Regions from separate parts of the Homo sapiens genome. Here region 2 is linked to region 1. The links are contacts of gene promoters, found by promoter capture Hi-C in human tissues and cell types (Jung and others, 2019). All regions are on one chromosome and are shown on one strand. Each heading gives the region's core, a stretch centred on a gene start or on the middle of the fragment in contact. The rest is flanking DNA. Distances are from core to core; before and after follow the strand shown. Region 1 has its middle 20 kb from the start of DHRS4L2. Region 2 holds the start of EMC9 (ER membrane protein complex subunit 9).

Region 1 (4,030 bases), core at 465-2,964:
AGAGAGAGAGAGAGAGAGAGAGAAAGAGAGGGAGAAAATGAGTAAGAGAGAGACTGGAAAAGACAGAGATCAGAGAAAGACACAGAAGGTGAGACTGGGGAAAAAAATAATGTAAAAGAGAAAGACAGAGATCAGAGAGAGACACAGAAAGTGAGACTGGGAAAAGAAATAGTGTAAAAGGAAGAAAAAGAGAAAAAGAGAGAGAGACCATAAGAGAAGGGAGACAATGAAACAAAAAGTGCGAGTGAGCAGGTGAGGAGAAAGATTGAAAACTATGAGAAACAACAACTAAGAGACAAAGGAGAAGGGAGACTGCCTGGGTGCCGGAGCACCCACACTGTCCTCTTGCCCCCATCACTTGGGTTAAAACCATTGGAAATTCCACTATTGCAAATTTTGTATTAATCCTTGTATGTCTGCCCTCTCTATTGTTAGTCTACAGGTGTATCCAGCAGTTCCAGAAAGACAGTGACCAGCAAAAACAGGCCATGGTGACAATGACAGTTTTGTCAAAAAGAAAAGGGGGATATGTAGGGAAAAGAAAGAGAGATCAGACTGTTACCGTGTCTATGTAGAAAGGGAAGACATAAGAGACTACATTTTGAAAAAGACCTGTACTTTAAATAATTGCTTTTCTGAGATGTTGTTAATTTTTAGCTTTGCCCCAGCCACTTTGACCCAACCACTTTGACCCAACCTGGAGCTCACAAGAACATGTGTTGTATGAAATCAAGGTTTAAGGGATCTAGGACTGTGTAGGACGTGCCTTGTTAACAAAATGTTTACAAGCAGTATACTTGGTAAAAGTCATCGCCATTCTCTAGTCTCAATAAACCAGGGGCACAGTGCACTGCAGAAAGCCGCAGGGACCTCTGCCCTTGAAAGCAGGGTATTGTCCAAGGTTTCTCCCCATGTGATAGTCTGAAATATGGCCTCCTGGGATGAGAAAGACCTGACTGTCCCCCAGCCCGACACCCATAAAGGGTCTGTGCTGCGGTGGGTTAGTAAAAAAGGAAGGCCTCTTGCAGTTGAGATAGAGGAAGGCCACTGTCTCCTGCCTGCTCCTGGGAACTAAAAGTCTCGGTATAAATCCCGATTGTACATTTGTTCAGTTCTGAGATGAGAGAAAAACCGCCCTATGGTGGGAGGCGAGACATGTTTGCAGCAATGCTGCCTCGTTATTCTTTACTCCACCGAGATGTTTGGGTGGAGAGAAACATAAATCTGGCTTACGTGCATGTCCAGTCATAGTACCTTCCCTTGAACTGAATTATTAGATTCTATTGCTCACGTTTGTTGCTGACCTTCTCCTTATTATCACCCTGCCCTCCTACTACATTCCTTTTTACTGAAATAATGACGATAATAATCAATAAAAACTGAGGGAACTCAGAGACCGGTGCCGGTGCAAGTCCTTGGTATGCTGAGCGCCGGTCCCCTGGGCTCACTGTTGTTTCTCTATACTTTGTCTCTGTGTCTTATTTCTCTTTCTCAGTCTCTCGTCCCACCTGACTAGAAATACCCACAGGTGTGGAGGGGCAAGCCACCCCTTCAAACAGTAGCAACCTGCTTGGGTCCCCTTCCACACTGTGGAAGCTTTGTTCTTTCGCTCTTTGCAATAAATCTTGCTGCCCCTCACTCTTTGGGTCCACACGGCCTTTATGAGCTGTAACACTCATCGTGAAGGTCTGCAGCTTCACTCCTGAGGCCAGTGAGGCCACGAACCCAGTGGGAGGAATGAACAACTCCGGATGGGAGGAACGAACAACTCCAGACATGCCGCCTTAAGAGCTGTAACACTCACTGTGAAGGTCCGCAGCTTCACTCCTGAAGCCAGCGAGACCACGAACCCACCAGAAGGAAAAAACTCTGAACGTGTCTGAACATCAGAAGGAACAAACTCCGGACACGCTGCCTTTAAGGACTGTAACACTCACTGCGAGGGTCCGTGGCTTCATTCTTGAAGTCAGTGAGACCAAGAACCCACCAATTCCAGACACACCTTCATTTTGAGCCTATGTGTGTCTTTGCACGTGAGATTGGGTCTCCTGAATACAGCACACCATATGGGTCTTGATTCTTTATCCAATTTGCCAGTCAGTGTCTTTTAATTGGGGCATTTATCCCATTTACATTGAAGGTTAGTATTGTTATATGTGAATTTGATCCTGTCATGACGTTAGCTGGTTATTTTGCCCATTAATTGATGCAGTTTCTTCATAGCATCAATGGTCTTTACAATTTCGTATGTTTTTGCAGTGGCTGGTACTGGTTGTTCCTTTCCATGTTTAGTGCTTCCTTCAGGAGCTCTTATTGTAAGGCAGGCCTGGTGGTGACAAACTCTCTCAGCATCTGCTTGTCTGTAAAGGATTTTATTTCTCCTTCACTTACGAAGCTTAGTTTGGCTGGATATGAAATTCTAGTTCCAAAAATCTTTTCTTTCAGAATGTTGAATATTGGTCCCGACTCTCTTCTGGTTTGTATGGTTTCTGCTGAGAGATCTGCTGTTAGTCTGATGGGCTTCCCTTTGTTGGTAACCCAACCTTTCTCTCTGGCTGCCCTTAACCTTGCTGAATCTGACAATTATGTGTCTTGGGGTTGCTCTTCTCAAGGAGTGTCTTTGTGATGTTCTCTGTATTTCCTGAATTTGAATGTTTCTTTTTTCTTTTCTTGTCTCTAATCTTGTGTTCTCACTTTATTTCATTAATTTTATATTCAATCACTGATATCCTTTCTTCCACTTGATTGAATCAGCTATTGAAGCTTGTGTATCCTTCATGAAGTTCTTGTACTGTGGTTATCAGCTCCATCAGGTCATTTAAGCTCTTCTCTAGATTCTTCATTCTAGTTAGCCATTCGTTTAACATTTTGTCAAGGTTTTTAGCTTCCTTGCAATGGGTTAGAACATGCTCCTTTAGCTGGGTGTAGTTTGTTATTACTGACCTTCTGAAGCTTACGTCTGTCAAGTCATCAAACTTATTCTCCATCCAGTTTTGTTCCCTTGCTGGTGAGGACTTGTATTCCTTTGGAAGAGAAGAGACGTTCTGATTTCTGGAAGTTTCAGCCTTTTTGCTCTGGTTTCTCTCCATCTTTGTGGTTTTATCTACCTTTGGTCTTTGATGTTGGTGACCTATGGATGGGGTTTTAGTGTGGATGTCCTTTCCTGTTCTGATGTTGATGCTGTCCTTTGCTGATGTTGATGCTATTCCTTTCTGTTTGTTAGTTTTCCTTCTAACAGGCCCCTCAGCTGCAGGTCTTTGGGGGTTTGCTGGAAGTCCATTCCAGACCTTATTTTCTTGGGTATCAGTAGAGGAGGCTGCAGAACAGCAAATATTGCTGCCTGATCCTTCTTCTGGAAGCTTTGTTCCACAGGGGCACCCACCTGTATGAGGTGTCTCTCTGCCCCTACTGGGCGGTGTTTTTCAGTCAAGCTACATGGGGGTCAGGGACCCACTTGGGGAGGCAGTCTGTCCGTTATCGGAGCACGAACTCCGTGCTGGGAGAACCACTGCTGTCTTTAGAGATGTCAGGCAAGGACACTGAAGTCTGCAGAAGCTGTCTGCTGCCTTTTGCTCAGATATGCCCTGGCCCCTGAGGTGGAATCTGGAGAGGCAGTAGGCCTTGCTGAGCTGCGGTGGGTTCCGCCCAGTTAGAGCTTCCCTGCAGCTTTGTTTACACTGTGATCATAGAACGCCTACTGAAGCCTTAGCAATGGAGGACTTCCCTCCCCCACGGCCCCGTTAATTGATGCAGTTTCCGCACCCCCCCCACGGCCCTCTCCACCCTACCTGTCAAGCTCCAGCTCCAGCGGAGGATGCTCCAGGGACAGCGATGTCAGGACTGAGATGCAGGGGCTGCCTTAGAGTCTGGATGCATGGGGTAGCGGGGTGTGAGGCACCGGGCCGGGGTGCAGGGCCGGAAGGAACGTGCTGGATCTGGGATGCTACCAGACGGGGCGTCCCAAAGACCGAGGCAGTCCCGTACCTTACAACTCTCAGATGAGCTCCACGGTGGGCTTGGCCACCGTGAC
Region 2 (4,030 bases), core at 1,018-3,517, 130 kb before region 1:
TTACCTAGAAAAACTGGTTTGGGCTTCAACAACCTTGACCCTTTTCTCTGCTCAGTCCTTTGGGATCCTATTTCTTGGTGCTAAGAAGGGGTTCATTCTCAAGTTAACCTATTTCCTATAAAAGGAAACCAGACTCATGTCCCAGCCTCCCATGGGACTGACTCAGCTTTGCCTCCCACATTGCAGATGGATTACCGGGCCTTGGTGCATGAGCGAGATGAGGCAGCCTATGGGGAGCTCAGGGCCATGGTGCTGGACCTGAGGGCCTTCTATGTGAGTGTGGAGTAAGGCTTTAGGGGAGGTGGATGAGTGGGGGCAGGCAGGGGATTGGCTAAGAACCTGACTCTTGCACTCTGGCCTTCTCCCAGGCTGAGCTTTATCATATCATCAGCAGCAACCTGGAGAAAATTGTCAACCCAAAGGGTGAAGAAAAGCCATCTATGTACTGAACCCGGGACTAGAAGGAAAATAAATGATCTATATGTTGTGTGGATTCCCTTCTGGCGTGTGTCATTCATTCAAAAAGCATTTATTGAGTGGCACCTATGTCCAGCCTGAAGATGAATGTGGTGGGAAGGGGTGGGTGTCACAAAGACAAAGATGACTTAGATGCCCACTGTAATCTTGACTGTGAGAAAGAGGGGATTCAGGCCCTTTCTCATCCAGTAGTCAATGTGCCATCTCCCCTTCCCTAGTCACCTCTTATCTCACTTACCTTCTTTCTTCTCCTGCTTATCTGTTTCCATCTAAGGCAAAAAGGGGGGAAAGTAGCTTTAGAAAAGTCACAGAGGTTGAAGGGCTATCTTCTCCATTGGGTTTATAGTCCAAGTCCTTCACCCTGAGTGCCTAGGGTGGGGATTGTTACATGCCATGGCAGCCATGCAGATAACCTGTATTTTGGAATGTAACAGTATTATTTTCATCCAGAGGTCTCAGGAATTATTGGAAGAGATGGCATTTGCACAGAGCCCTTATGGGAATAATCAGGCTTTGGATACACAAGGGGAAAGTTCTGTGGTCAACATCAGGAATGAAGAAAGAAAGAATCCTCATCAGTTCAGGAAAAGCCTAGAAGGAGAATAAGGTTTCACTGGGAGAACTATGGAGAACTACGGATGAATGATTGGACTCCCCCCACCCTTTTTTTTTTTTTTTTGAGATGGAGTCTTGCTCTGTTGCCCAGGCTGGAGTGCAATGGCACGATCTCAGCTTACTGCTACCTCCGTCTCCCGGGTTCAAGCAATTCTCCTGCCTCAGCCTCCCGAGTAGCTGGAATTACAGGCATGTGCCACCACACCTGGCTAATTTTTTTGTATTTTTAATAGAGACGGGGTTTCGCCATGTTGGCCAGGCTGGTCTCGAACTCCTGACCTCAGGCGATCCACCCACCTCGGCCTCCCAAAGTGCTGGGATTACAAGGCGTGAGCCACCGCGCCGGGCCTGGACTCCCTCCTTAAGGGCTAGGAGGGGAAAAAATAATGCTTCCAAGGCACTGTGGTGAAGGAAATACATCGCAGGACATTATGGGAAGGATGAATCTGTAAGTTTTTCTTACTGTCCTCCCCCATATCCCCTTCAGCCAATCACTGTCTTTATCTCTGCTTTTCAAGATTCAGCCCTGGGCTGGTGATAGAGACAAGGGTTCCTTTGCTGTGATCTTGCTGTAAACTCCATGGGATTGTTCTTTAATTCAGGGCCTTATCCTGTCATAAAATATGAGATAAGAATGTGCTGCGAAGCACTAGACTGGCTGGAAGCCTGCCCCCATACATATCTCATTAAATCCTTAAAGGAACACGGGCAAAAGATAAACCAAGGGCAAGAAAACCTGCAGTCGCGAAGGCAACACGGCCCATTAGTAAGTGACAGAGCCGATCTAGAGTACAGAGCCACTCAACCCATAATAGGCGCAAGGCGGTCTGCTTTGCCCGCAGCGCTCCGGAACACCCGGCTACGGGATAGCGATCCATCCTTGGGGCTCGGCGGAGCGAGTGGTAGTGGGCAACACAGGTAACAGGCAAAGCCAACCACCAACCGAGAGCGGAAGTCGGGGAACCTAGCCAATAAGAGTGCGGGCAATTTTCTGTGCTTCACAATGGTGGGTTCTTTCCAGTCCGCTGGAGACAAAGGCGGGGCAACGTTGGGGCGCGGCCGCTGATTGGACAAATTGAAAGCCTTTAGCCCTATCAAGGAGCACCACGTGGGCGGGACTCCAGGAGCCAGTTCTGCAGGGAGCTGCAGTTTGGTCTGTCTCCCAGGCAGGCGCAGAGTCGCGGCCGCCAGCTAGGGGCGCGGGAAGGCGGGGCTCGGATGCAATCGGGACCTCCTCCTGGACTGGGCCGGGGGCGGACTCCGGGACCCAGGGCGCCGGGAGCCGGCGGGCTACCTGCGAGTCGAGTTAGCGTTGTCGCCGAACCGAAGTGAGAGGGCACGGGGAAGGGTCAAAGAGCGTGCCGAAGCGCTGGAGGGAGCTTCACGGACGCGAGCTAGGCACCGGCTCGCCTAATCCGGTACTAATCCGGCTTGCTGCTTCCCGTCCAGGCCTCGCTCGCCATGGGGGAGGTGGAGATCTCGGCCCTGGCCTACGTGAAGATGTGCCTGCATGCTGCCCGGTACCCACACGCCGCAGTCAACGGGCTGTTTTTGGCGCCAGCGCCGCGGTCTGGAGAATGCCTGTGCCTCACCGACTGTGTGCCCCTCTTCCACAGCCACCTGGCCCTGTCCGTCATGTTGGAGGTCGCCCTCAACCAGGTGCCTCCGTTGGATGCCCATCCCCCACCGCGAACCCACCCAACACCCCAGCCCAAGTTCATCCCCGGTCCCTTGGCAGCAGTGCGCATCCACAAAGCCAGCGGCACAATTTAATTACTGATGGCCCCTTTCCTACGACAGGTGGATGTGTGGGGAGCACAGGCCGGTCTGGTGGTGGCTGGTTACTACCATGCCAATGCAGCTGTGAACGATCAGAGGTGAGTGGCGTAGCCAGAGGAAGAAGGAAAGGATTATGGCGGGTTGGGGATTGGAGGAATAGAGGGCGAGGATGCGTGGGGCGGTGGGCGGGGCGGGGGCGCACAAGATGAACCAAGGTCGTTCCTTTTATCTTTCCTTCATCAAACGCTTAGGAGCAGGGGCTTTACACCAGGCACTATGCTGGGTACTGGAGTGAGGGAATATAAAGATGAATAGGACAGAGCCCTGCCCTGGAGTGCCGTTGGGGCGGGGAGGACAACTGTGTATCAACAGACTGATTTTTTTTTTTTTTTTGAGACGGAGTCTCCCTCTGTCTCCCAGGCTGGAGTGCAGTGGCGCAATCTCGGCTCACTGGAACTTCCACCTCCTAGATTCAAGCGATTCTCCTGCCTCAGCCTCCCGAGTAGCTGGGATCACAGATGAGCGCCACCATGCCCGGCTAATTTTTTTTATTTTTTTAATTTATTATTATTTTTTATTTTTAGTAGAGATGGGGTTTCGCCATGTTGGCCAGGCTGGTCTAGAACTTGACCTCAGGTGATCCACGCGCCTCGGACTCCCAAAGTGCTGGGATTACAGGCGTGAGCCACCACTCTCGGCCAACAGACTGATCTTGCTTTAACTGAGGTGTCCCCCAGGGGCTGAAAGAACAGAGAAATCCCAACCAGCAACTTCAAAAATAAGGCAGTTTCCTTATATATATACATATAGGAAAAGACATATATATATATATATATATATTAATCATATACATGGAGCAATTAGAGGTACTGTTTTGTAATTTGCGTTTCTCCCTCACTTAATAAATACTTGACATCATCCCATTTCCACACCAAGATCTACCGTAACAGCTATATAGTCTGAATATGAATGTACTCTAATTTATTTAATACTTTAAACATTGAGGTTGTTTCCAGTGTTTTATTACAGACACTGTCCTATGATTACCATAAATTCTTTATAAGTAGAATTTCTGGGTCAGCATATGTATAGTATGTATACAGTTTCAATTTGGATGGTTATGCCAAATTACCTTCCAAAAAGACCACCTTTGGTTTCC

What was found. Contacts are between HindIII fragments. The study calls those that stand out against the background at their distance.
Region 2: a contact is called between the fragment with the promoter of EMC9 here and a fragment that was not itself captured in region 1, in 6 of the 25 tissues and cell types used here (aorta, dorsolateral prefrontal cortex, heart left ventricle and 3 more).

Annotation. Positions count from the first base shown.
Region 1 is chr14:24,007,220-24,011,249 of GRCh38, reverse strand. It overlaps the pseudogene DHRS4L1. Among named protein-coding and RNA genes, the nearest start is that of DHRS4L2, 20 kb to the right of the region's middle. The HindIII fragment of the contact is 5,422 bases long and covers 1-4,030 here.
Region 2 is chr14:24,139,828-24,143,857 of GRCh38, reverse strand. EMC9 (ER membrane protein complex subunit 9) reads left to right here and starts at 2,267. Exons shown (of 6, transcript NM_016049.4): 1 at 2,267-2,420; 2 at 2,542-2,751; 3 at 2,893-2,969. The coding sequence starts at 2,554. It overlaps PSME2 (proteasome activator subunit 2), which reads left to right. Exons shown (of 11, transcript NM_002818.3): 10 at 187-273; 11 at 369-493. The coding sequence ends at 449. MIR7703 (microRNA 7703) reads left to right here and starts at 293; the gene lies at 293-369. RefSeq lists a silencer at 2,344-2,433. The HindIII fragment of the contact is 5,248 bases long and covers 1-3,853 here.